2 separate regions of the Homo sapiens genome follow, and region 2 is linked to region 1. The links are contacts of gene promoters, found by promoter capture Hi-C in human tissues and cell types (Jung and others, 2019). All regions are on one chromosome and are shown on one strand. The core of a region is centred on a gene start or on the middle of the fragment in contact, and the rest is flanking DNA. Distances in the headings are between cores, read along the strand shown.

Region 1 (4,918 bases), core at 658-3,157:
CCAGCCTGGCCAATATGGCAAAACCCTGTCTCTACCAAAAATACAAAAGCTTAGCCGGGCATGGTGGCGCATGCCTGTAATCCTAGGTACTCGGGAGACTAAGGCAGGAGACTCGCTTGAACCCAGGAGGCGGAGGTTGCAGAGAGCTGAGATCCTGCCACTGCACTACAGCCTGGGCAACACAGTGAGGCTGTCTCCAAAAAAAAAGATCCTACACACCAGCTAGTAGTTCCTGGATGTCCAAGGGCAAAGGTCATTGTAATAAATCAAGGAGTAAAAAGTTTTTTAAGTCGTGACCTCATTCTCAATGGAATTACCTGTTGAGGAAATAATAAGATATTTGATTTCATAAAGCACTCTCAGGAGACCTTCCACGGCGACCCTGCTGAAGCTACCACCGAAGAGTCCCCATAATGCATGACACCCCCTCTTCCTAACCCCCTCCACACAAACATACATTCAGAAAAGGACGGGACAGGGAGAAACTCCTTTACACATGGGTGCTGGAGTTTAGAATTGACACCCTCACCATTAATATTTCCTAATTCCTCATACAATGGAATTTTTAGAATAGATTTTATAATAAATCTAAATAATTACTTATAATAAAATGTAGACCGAACAGACAGAAACACAAGGCTGTGGCTTTTATTTTATGGTTTGAAAAGTTCTATGAGACAACATTAATTAGTAACATTCCTCAGTGGACTGCAATGTAGTTTATTATAAATGGTAATTTAGAGATAATGGTATGAACGTGTTAAGTTCCAAGCAACCCATCTAAAAGAGAAAGTGGAACTCAATATTGATGGGCATTCTCCTCGAAGCCCTGAGTACAGCTTATATTTCACCCTAAATTATCTTTTTTAGCCTTTCATATTGAGACCATTTAAGCAGCATTTTAAAATAGATTACTAAAAGGGAAAGCAGACGATAAAATATATAAAGCAAGCATTTTAGGCAAGAATCCAGATTATGTAATTCTATATGATCAGAGAGATAATCACCTGGTTTCTGAGAGGACTCATGCCTTCAGATAAAATAACAATGGATTACATCTCTTCCTTCCCACCCCACCCTCTTTGGCAGGCTTTAATTAGAAAGATACTAGTGTAGATTGAAGTCTTAGCCATACTCAACTCTTCCCTTGACCTGAAGAAAACCACAGCCATAGAGAATCTGGTGGGATACAAAACATTGTCAGTTTCATCCAAGTACACCAGTGAGCTTAAATAGAGCACCCAGGAGGTGCACTCTTTATGCAAGAGAAAAAAGGTGACCCCTTACATATTGATGATTTGACTCACATAATGGTCTTACCTTCTGGATCAGAGCCTTGAAGTGTCAAGCACATCATTTCCATATAGACAAGTAATATTTCCATGCAGGAGAAGGCTAAGATAATCTTCCAGATGTAAACCAAGGACCTGCTGTCTGGGTCTTTGCATTTGTCAGTTGTGTATTTATGTGCGGGACACAGTAACTATTGAAGCAAACCGAATTCAAGCAAACTAAAAAGCAAATCCTTGCATAGTACTTAAAGTCCAATGAGATAAAATGATGGATCGAAAGGATTATTTTTGCTTAATGAAGCATTCTGGGTTTTGAGTCTCATTGGACTCAGTTTTTCAACAGGATGTTTTGCTCAAGGGCTGGAATTTGGAAATTCCACAACAGCTATATAATCAGTCAGCTCTGATTAATTTAATTGAAACAGGACTCTTGATGAAGCCCTGCTGTGCTTATAATTAAAAATTTAGAAAGGGGTAGATGATGTGGGGATTTCTTTTTCCTGTGAAATTAGCTGAGTGTATTAATTCAGAAGGTAGGCAGTTGCCTCTGATTGTATGCTTCGGTAATCTGAACCATCTGCCTCTATATACTAAGGAGTTCACCACTTTAATCCAGCTTACGGCCGACAAACCACTCTTCTCTATCAGTATGCCCTTGAATAGATGAGGTTGTGCAAAGTCCTTTGCTCTTAAATGTATTGCTGTCATTGAGAATATTTGGAGGTTTTCTCTTGGGTTTGTTTGGATTTTTTTTTTCAGCTTTTGTCTGAATTTTGGTTTTATTTTTCTGGGGCAGAGAAAATGGCTTTCCTTATGAAAAGTATGATAAGTAACCAGGTAAAGAATTTAGGATTTGGTGGTGGGTCTGAAGAAAATAAAGAAGAAGGAGGTGCATCTGATCCTGCAGCAGCTCAAGGGATGACTAGAGAGGAGTATGAGGAGTATCAAAAGCAAATGATTGAGGAGAAGTGAGTACATGCTATTTCATTTCCCTTAAAAAGCAAAGGAAATTCATTCTGGCCATACCTTCTTCAGTTCTCCAGTTTATTTCTCTTTGCTTTTTAAGATGCCTTTCCTTTTGCCGTTTACCTCTAACCCAAGGAAAGGTTGTTCTTCTAAAGTAAACGGTTCCCTAACATCAGCAGCTACTATGTTCTATGTTCTACATGTATGAATGGAAATGAACAATAATAAATGAATCTATATGTTGTTCTTAAAGCAGCTTAACACTTTCTGGTCTAGGCATGTTTTGATTGACCTCAATTTAATTATTTAGATGAAAAGTGGTAGGTTTAACTATCTTTACATTCTTTCTAAACTTCACCCTCTTAGCACGTAGAAAGTCTTCAAATTGTAAGAATTCAGACCTTATACCTAGAAAAGGGCCTAAAATAACATAGAGGGCAGCTTCTTTGATCTTGCATGTGAGAAAAAAAAAAAAAACCCAGGAAGCATAACATGACAATTATGTCATAAGACTTGGCTTATCAAAGACTATGAATGGATTTGTGGACTGTTTAATATGGAAATTCTAAACATACAGAAAAGTAGAATAGTAGGACAAATACCCACATATACCTATGACATAAAATCAACAGCTTACAGTTTGCTACATTTGCTTAAAGATTAAAAAGATAGATGGTAGATAATAGCTTTTAAAGTAAATTACAGATGTCATGTACTTCACCCCCAAATACTTCAGCCACCTTCCTCCAAAAAATAAAGGCATTTTCTTGGCTATATAAAATATAACAAAAATAAAATATAAAATATAAGCAACATTTAATTGGGTATTATAGAATGTGAATATCACCAACAACTTTTCACCACTTGAAGACTGATTCTGAAATAAATGTAATCTCTGTGTAATTTTTAAATGTTTAAGGTAGAATTAAGATTCTTTTAATAATCAGTTAAGAAATGAAACATCAATCTAGAGGTTAAATGTTTATCATATGTTTCAAAAGAAAAGTATTTCTTTTTTGCCACCAGGACTCTTTTGCTAATGATCAATTACATAATAGTTGCCTAAATCCTATCGCTAAGATGATTATAGGTGAAAAGGTTAATGACCTGGAGGAAACAAAGAAAGTACAAAGACTACGTTTAGTGGAAACCTTGTCTATTGTATTTTTCTGAAAGAAATCATGGCTTATAGACTACCTAGAATACATTATGCTTGGTTCTGCAGTAACTTAAAGTTGGTTTTTAAAAAACAGTCAATGCAACTAGCAAAAATGATGGTGCTAAGACTTGGGCAAAAGAAGCAGCATTCCTTGAATATTGGCTGATTTTACCTATGGCATGCAAAAGAACAAAAAGCTTAAAAGCAAAATAAGTACTGTGTAATGAAGGATAGAAGACAAAAATCAGCATCAAACATTCTCAGATCAAGTAGGCTAATGAAAACAGAAATGTAGACTACAGTTGTGAGCATGCAAAATATCACCTAATATGTTCAAGCAGCAGATCCGATTGCAGATAAGGCATCTATTTGATTAACTAATGTCCTAGTTTTCCTTAATTTTATATCTGGACAGATCAAAGCTCAAAATGGCCAAATCATACAGTCAATCAGCAGACTGAGTTGTCAGCTACTCAGCTTTTTGCATATGTGTGTGAGAATATTATATATTTATGTAGTCACTCAATGTAAGAAATAGTGTCAGGACAATGGAGCATTTGGCTTCCCTATGATAAAGAGGGATGACTTTCAGTCCATTGTTTGAGTTTTCAAGAATTTCACCACCTAGAATGCAATATGTAGTAGGCATTAAAAATAATTCATCACAAGATAAACGCAGAGAGAGCTACAAACAGTTTAGTATATATAATAATTAAAATCAATGTTAGCAAATGAAAGCCTCCTAAACCCATCCTCATCATTGTAGGAAGTGGGGAGACTATATGAATTATAAATAAAAAACTATTTAGCAATGCACTCTATTTAATAATGCACATTCATTTTTATTTTCTTTCTGTGTTCAATGTGTGTGTGTGTGTGTGCGCACGCACCACTGGTAACATTAGTACTGAAAGAGGTCTAAACATAAATAGACTATCTGGAAAGGAAATAAAACAATAGTCTGTTTCTCCCGCCATTTTCTCAATTATATTAAAATGCTTCTTTGCCATAGTTATGCTTCAACAGTTTCTACAATATCATTTGTAACTTGACTCTGACCTTTGTTTTATTCAGTAATTGTTTGGACCCCTAGTATGAGCATAGCATTGTGAGGAATGTACTGAAATGGAAGAGATGGGTTTTCTTCTGCAGGAATTTACACTTTACTTGGTGGGGGGAGACTAGCTAGCTGCATGTGACTATAAACAGAGCAACCAGCTTTTCTGCGTGATTTGTAGACTGGCTCTGGAGGACTGGAATGTAACTCTGCGTGGCATTAGTATCAACAAATCGATCAATGGGGTTTATAGTTATTTGATTTTCAACAAAAGCGCCAAAATAATCAGACCAGGAACGGAAAGTCTTTTCAACAAATGGTGCTAAACAACTGAAAAACATTGAACTTTGACCCCTACTTAACACTATACACAAAAATTAATTTGTCATGCATCATACACGTAAACATAAAAGCCAAAATTATAAAGCTTTTAGAAAAAAAAGT
Region 2 (4,595 bases), core at 1,452-3,951, 100 kb before region 1:
GCAATTTGCTTTTTAAAAAAAATTCTGGCTGGGCACAGTGGCTCATACCTAAAATCCCAGCACTTTAAGAGACTGAGGCAGGAGGATTGCTTGAAGCCAGCAGTTCAAGACCAGCTTGGGCAACAAAGTGAGACCCTGCGTAGCCCTACAAAACTAAAAGAAAAAAAAAAATACCTGGGTGCACATCTATGGTCTTAGCCACTCAGGAGGCTGAGGCAGAAGGATCACTTGAGCCCAGGAGTTCAAGGCTGCAGTGAGCTCTGATCTGTGTCACTACACTCCATCCTGGGCAACAGAGTGAGACCCCATCTTAAAAAAAAAAAAAAAAAAGTCCTGGTCACAACCACTAAATTGACTTCTCGGGTAGCAGCCCACAGTTTGAAAACCACTTGCTTAGACTGATGTTCTCAAACTTCTTTGTGCATAGGAACCATCTGAGGATTTTATGACAGTGAAGATTCTGATTCAGGGGTCTGAGGTTTGCCTTCAGTGCTGCTGTTTGGGAACCACACCGTGAGTAGCAAAGTCTTCCCTCCCACAGGAGCATGTGTTCTGGACTTTAGATGGGAGCAGGAGAAAATTAGATTAATTTAGAACTCTGACAAGCATCAGGAATTCACATATGGCTATTATGTCTCAATTATTTAATCCCTATGTCTTTGATGATTTAAAACATAGTTTCCCTGGGAAATGGCACATCTTAAGCCTTACCTCTCCATTAACATGTTAGCAGGCAACAAGTTGATAGCTGCTACAGGGGAAGAAGATGTCTGGAGGGAGATTCTGGGTAGGGAGACTGGGAAGGTGACTCCCTCCCCAGCATGGGCCCTGGCCTTGCCTCAAGTTGCTAATATTTTGGAGGCTGGTTCCCCAGGTGGGAGGGCAGAAATGACGTCCATGCAGCACGTTGACCCAGGTAAGCTTCATTCACCTGTTCCCGCATGGTGTCGCTTTCACCAGCATCCCCAGGCGATTCAGGGACTCCTGATTCTCATCGATTCTGGCGAAGTGACAACTTATGTGCTGAATCCGCACTTCTCCTCCAGCCTGTTTTCTGTGGCTTCTTATCCTCTTCTGTCTGTAGCATCACAACCACACTGGGGATGAGAGCTGGGTGGGAAAAATGATTAAATCAGAGGCAGAGTTGTATCTATAGTCATTTTTTGCTTTACAAATAGTTTTTGTGATGTATGTGGACAGAACAGTTTCCAAAGTCAAGTTTTGTTGGGTTTAAAAAAAATGTAACCCATGGACGTTCTTGGCTGTGTTCCCCACCACCCCCTCACAGTAACGTAATCTGCTGGATCTGCCCCAACCCATCTTGGACATGGCTATAGACCTTTTTACCCCAGGGCTCTGGAGATGATACACAGAATCTTACTAACTGCCATCATACCATGTAATTGCAGGACCATGTAATGTGAAAGGAACACTTCTCCCATGTACTGACAGGGTCATTTATTTACAGTTCTGTAAAACTCTCAGCCAAAACCAGCAGATCATATACACAACTACTCATAGGCGGGTAATTTGCCTTCTGGAAAAGAAAAAGGTGCACAAATCGAATTAGGCTCAGATTATTCAGAAAGGAAATAACAGCTGGAAAACATTTCAAAAAGTGGTCCCTTCAAAAGAGCCTTCCAAGAATACCAGCCAAATACATTTTTCCTTCAGGGCTTATTCTATGTGGCTATTGACCACTGAGATCCAATACTACCAGCCAGATTGACACAGACTTTGCATGTCAATATTCACATGAAGTGGGATGAAGGTCTTTGGGTTGCTGAGATTATGTGTGTTCCAAATAAATGAAGTTAGCCCCCAGGTATTTATTGGCTTTTCCAGCTACATAGGCACCTTTCTACCAAGGATAAAATCTGTGATCTGTGTAGAGAACTTTTCTTGCTAAGTCTTTGTGGAGTAATCAGCAACTTCATTGCATCTAAGCCTTCCTCTGCTAATCCCGTGATTACTGGACTCACAGTTTCACCTTGGTAGCTTATCTGTGGTCAGATGGTACTGGGGGCTGCTGCTATACTACCCTCACCCCACACACACACACTTATCTTGCAAAGAGGTACACAGGCATCCCTCCCTCAGGCACTTCAGTTTCTTTCATGCCTTTTACTTGATTCCAGAAGTCCCCACTGAGGCCAAGAAATCTGAGTACTATTCTCAGGAGAAATTTGCTCTGGGGTCCCTCGGGGATAAAAGGATGGTGTGAGGGATCCTGGCTGCATGGAAGGGGCCTGAGGAAACTTGTTGCAATTGACAATCCTTCCAGTGTCTGCCTCAAGTCTGAAATTCTCACCACGCATTCCACTGCTTAGGTACCATTCACTCAGGTTACAGCTTTCAGTTACAAGAGTAGGTTCATCCATTAACCAGCAGGTACATGGAGAAGTTAGTCACTTGACTCCATATTAAGGCCCAAACAAAGCAATTTTGAGGGAATATGTGAAATATAATGAGGAGGAAGATAGAATTAATCTCAGAGCTAAACTTGGGCATAGCTAGATTCCAGGGAAGAGGGTGGAATTGTAAAATAAGCTGAAACAACCCAGGAGCTTTGTTCTCTCAAAAGCACCTTCTCCTGTAATACAATGAATGGTCTCTCCACCACCATCATTGTGAATTTCATGGTTTTTGAGTCACTTCCATTACTAGCTGGGTGACCCTCGCATCATACTAGGGAACATGAAGACGTGAATTCCACCTCATTTGGAACAGTTTGGATCAGGGCTGTGTCCAGGTAGGAGCTAGCTGTACCAGGGGCTTCCCCATTTCCCACTCCTTTCTGACTTCAAAGACAGGGTCCTTGCTTTCTCCCAAATGGAATCTGGAGGTTTTATTTGTAGGCAGTTGTGCCAATCTGTCTCCTACCCTTAGTCACAAACTACTTAAGGACAAGAGTTAACTATCTTCATAGTTGCTGGAGACCTACAGCAGTACTTGGTGCATATTAAGTGCTCAGAAGATGTTAACAGAAAGCAAGCGGTTGCTAAAGATACAGCCACCAGTGGCCCTCAGTTACTTCCATTCACTTAGTTATTTAACAGATATGTATTGAATGCTCTCATATACTATGGTCAGCACTTGTCCCTGTCTTAATGGGATTGTACATTTATTTATACATAGATTATAATCTAGTGAATGAAGTCACAGATCTGTACTGGTACATACTGAAGCCCCATCTCCTTTTTATTTCTTTTTCCTTACAGAAGTTTGCTGAGCAATCTTTATTTTACAATTTGCAACTGGATTCTTCATCCTTGATACCCCCTATTCTGGTTTTTACCCTTCTTAAGGAAAAGCAAGTGACTTTGCATACTGGCCAATAAGAGACAGCCTCTAATAGGTCTCCTATTCCCTCCTCTACGCTCAGTATCTATGAGCGTAGATATGTGGGTTTCACAACCTGCAAGTCCTGCCCAGGAAGTGGAATTTTCCTATTGAACCAAAATTGTGTTTTAGACTCAAAGCTGAGGGCAAAATGCACTAGGCATCCCCATGTTCTTTTTTTTTTTTCTTTTTGAGACGGAGTCTTGCTCTGTCACTAGGCTGGAGTGCAGTGGCACGATCTTGGCTCACTGAAACCTCCGTCTCCCGTTCAAGCGATTCCCCTGCCTTAGCCTCCTGAGTAGCTGGGAATACAGGTGTGCGCCACCACACCCAGCTAAGTTTTTGTATTTTAGTAGAGACTGGGTTTCACCATTTTGTTCAGGATGGTATCAATCTCCTGACCTCATGATCCACCCACTTCGGCCTCCCAAAGTGCTGGGATTACAGGCGTGAGCCACTGTGCCCAGCCAGCATCCCCATGTTCTTAAGTGAGCATCATCAAATAGTTTGAGAGCTGCCACCTCCCCAGGGAGCTTAGTGAGCAGCTCCTGTTCAGAACTGTGCCTCTCCCACCTGACCCCAGCTGTGGGAGAAGAGGACCGGGTTGAGGGAGATGTAGACAGCCTTACAGAAAATACAGTATTCTTGATGACAAGTCTGTCCCTACTTAGAGTGTGGCTAGGGGAGAGGTACCCATCCCTAAAGCCAAGTGAGAGGGGGCTCCAAAAGTTTACTCATAACAACTTGGGGTGCCTTAATAATGTAAGAGGGCAGCATGTTCTCTGGCTGGATGTGTGCCAGGTCTATGTTGTTTGCCCCTGAAGCAAGACCTGCCACAAGCATTCTTGGGAGGATGATCCAAGAGTCTCCTCTTCACTAGACCTCCCCATGACCATGGGGAAGGAGAAAGGCGTGCTTGGCATGTGTGCCCTGAAAAGACGGGACATACTTATTCATAGAGATAACACTTGTTCCGATGAAGTCAGAGGCCTGGTGGGAGTAGCCTCTTTCACAGGGCTTCAAGGGATTGTGGATATTGTGCCTGAGAGGAAGGTGAGGCAACCATCTACTCCCTGATGTGTGAAAATGAAGGAACACAGAGGGGAAAGGAGAGGCAGGGACCCAATGCCAGGGACCGTTCCTTACTCTGATGTGTGCACAGCCACCAAAGCTGGCCCTTTTCTTCCAGCCTCTTGCCATCCCTCTAAAAGCTTGAATTAGCAGAGGCAGTTAAGCAGGAGGTAGAGGAGTGT

Evidence for each region. Contacts are between HindIII fragments. The study calls those that stand out against the background at their distance.
Region 2: a contact is called between a fragment that was not itself captured here and the fragment with the promoter of CPLX4 in region 1, in 2 of the 25 tissues and cell types used here (IMR-90 fibroblasts and neural progenitor cells).

The regions. Positions count from the first base shown.
Region 1 is chr18:59,315,638-59,320,555 of GRCh38, reverse strand. It overlaps CPLX4 (complexin 4), which reads left to right and starts at 1,907. Exons shown (of 3, transcript NM_181654.4): 1 at 1,907-2,260. The coding sequence starts at 2,094. The HindIII fragment of the contact is 6,963 bases long and covers 1-4,258 here.
Region 2 is chr18:59,420,187-59,424,781 of GRCh38, reverse strand. No RefSeq gene overlaps it. Among named protein-coding and RNA genes, the nearest start is that of LMAN1, 63 kb to the right of the region's middle. The HindIII fragment of the contact is 4,792 bases long and covers 306-4,595 here.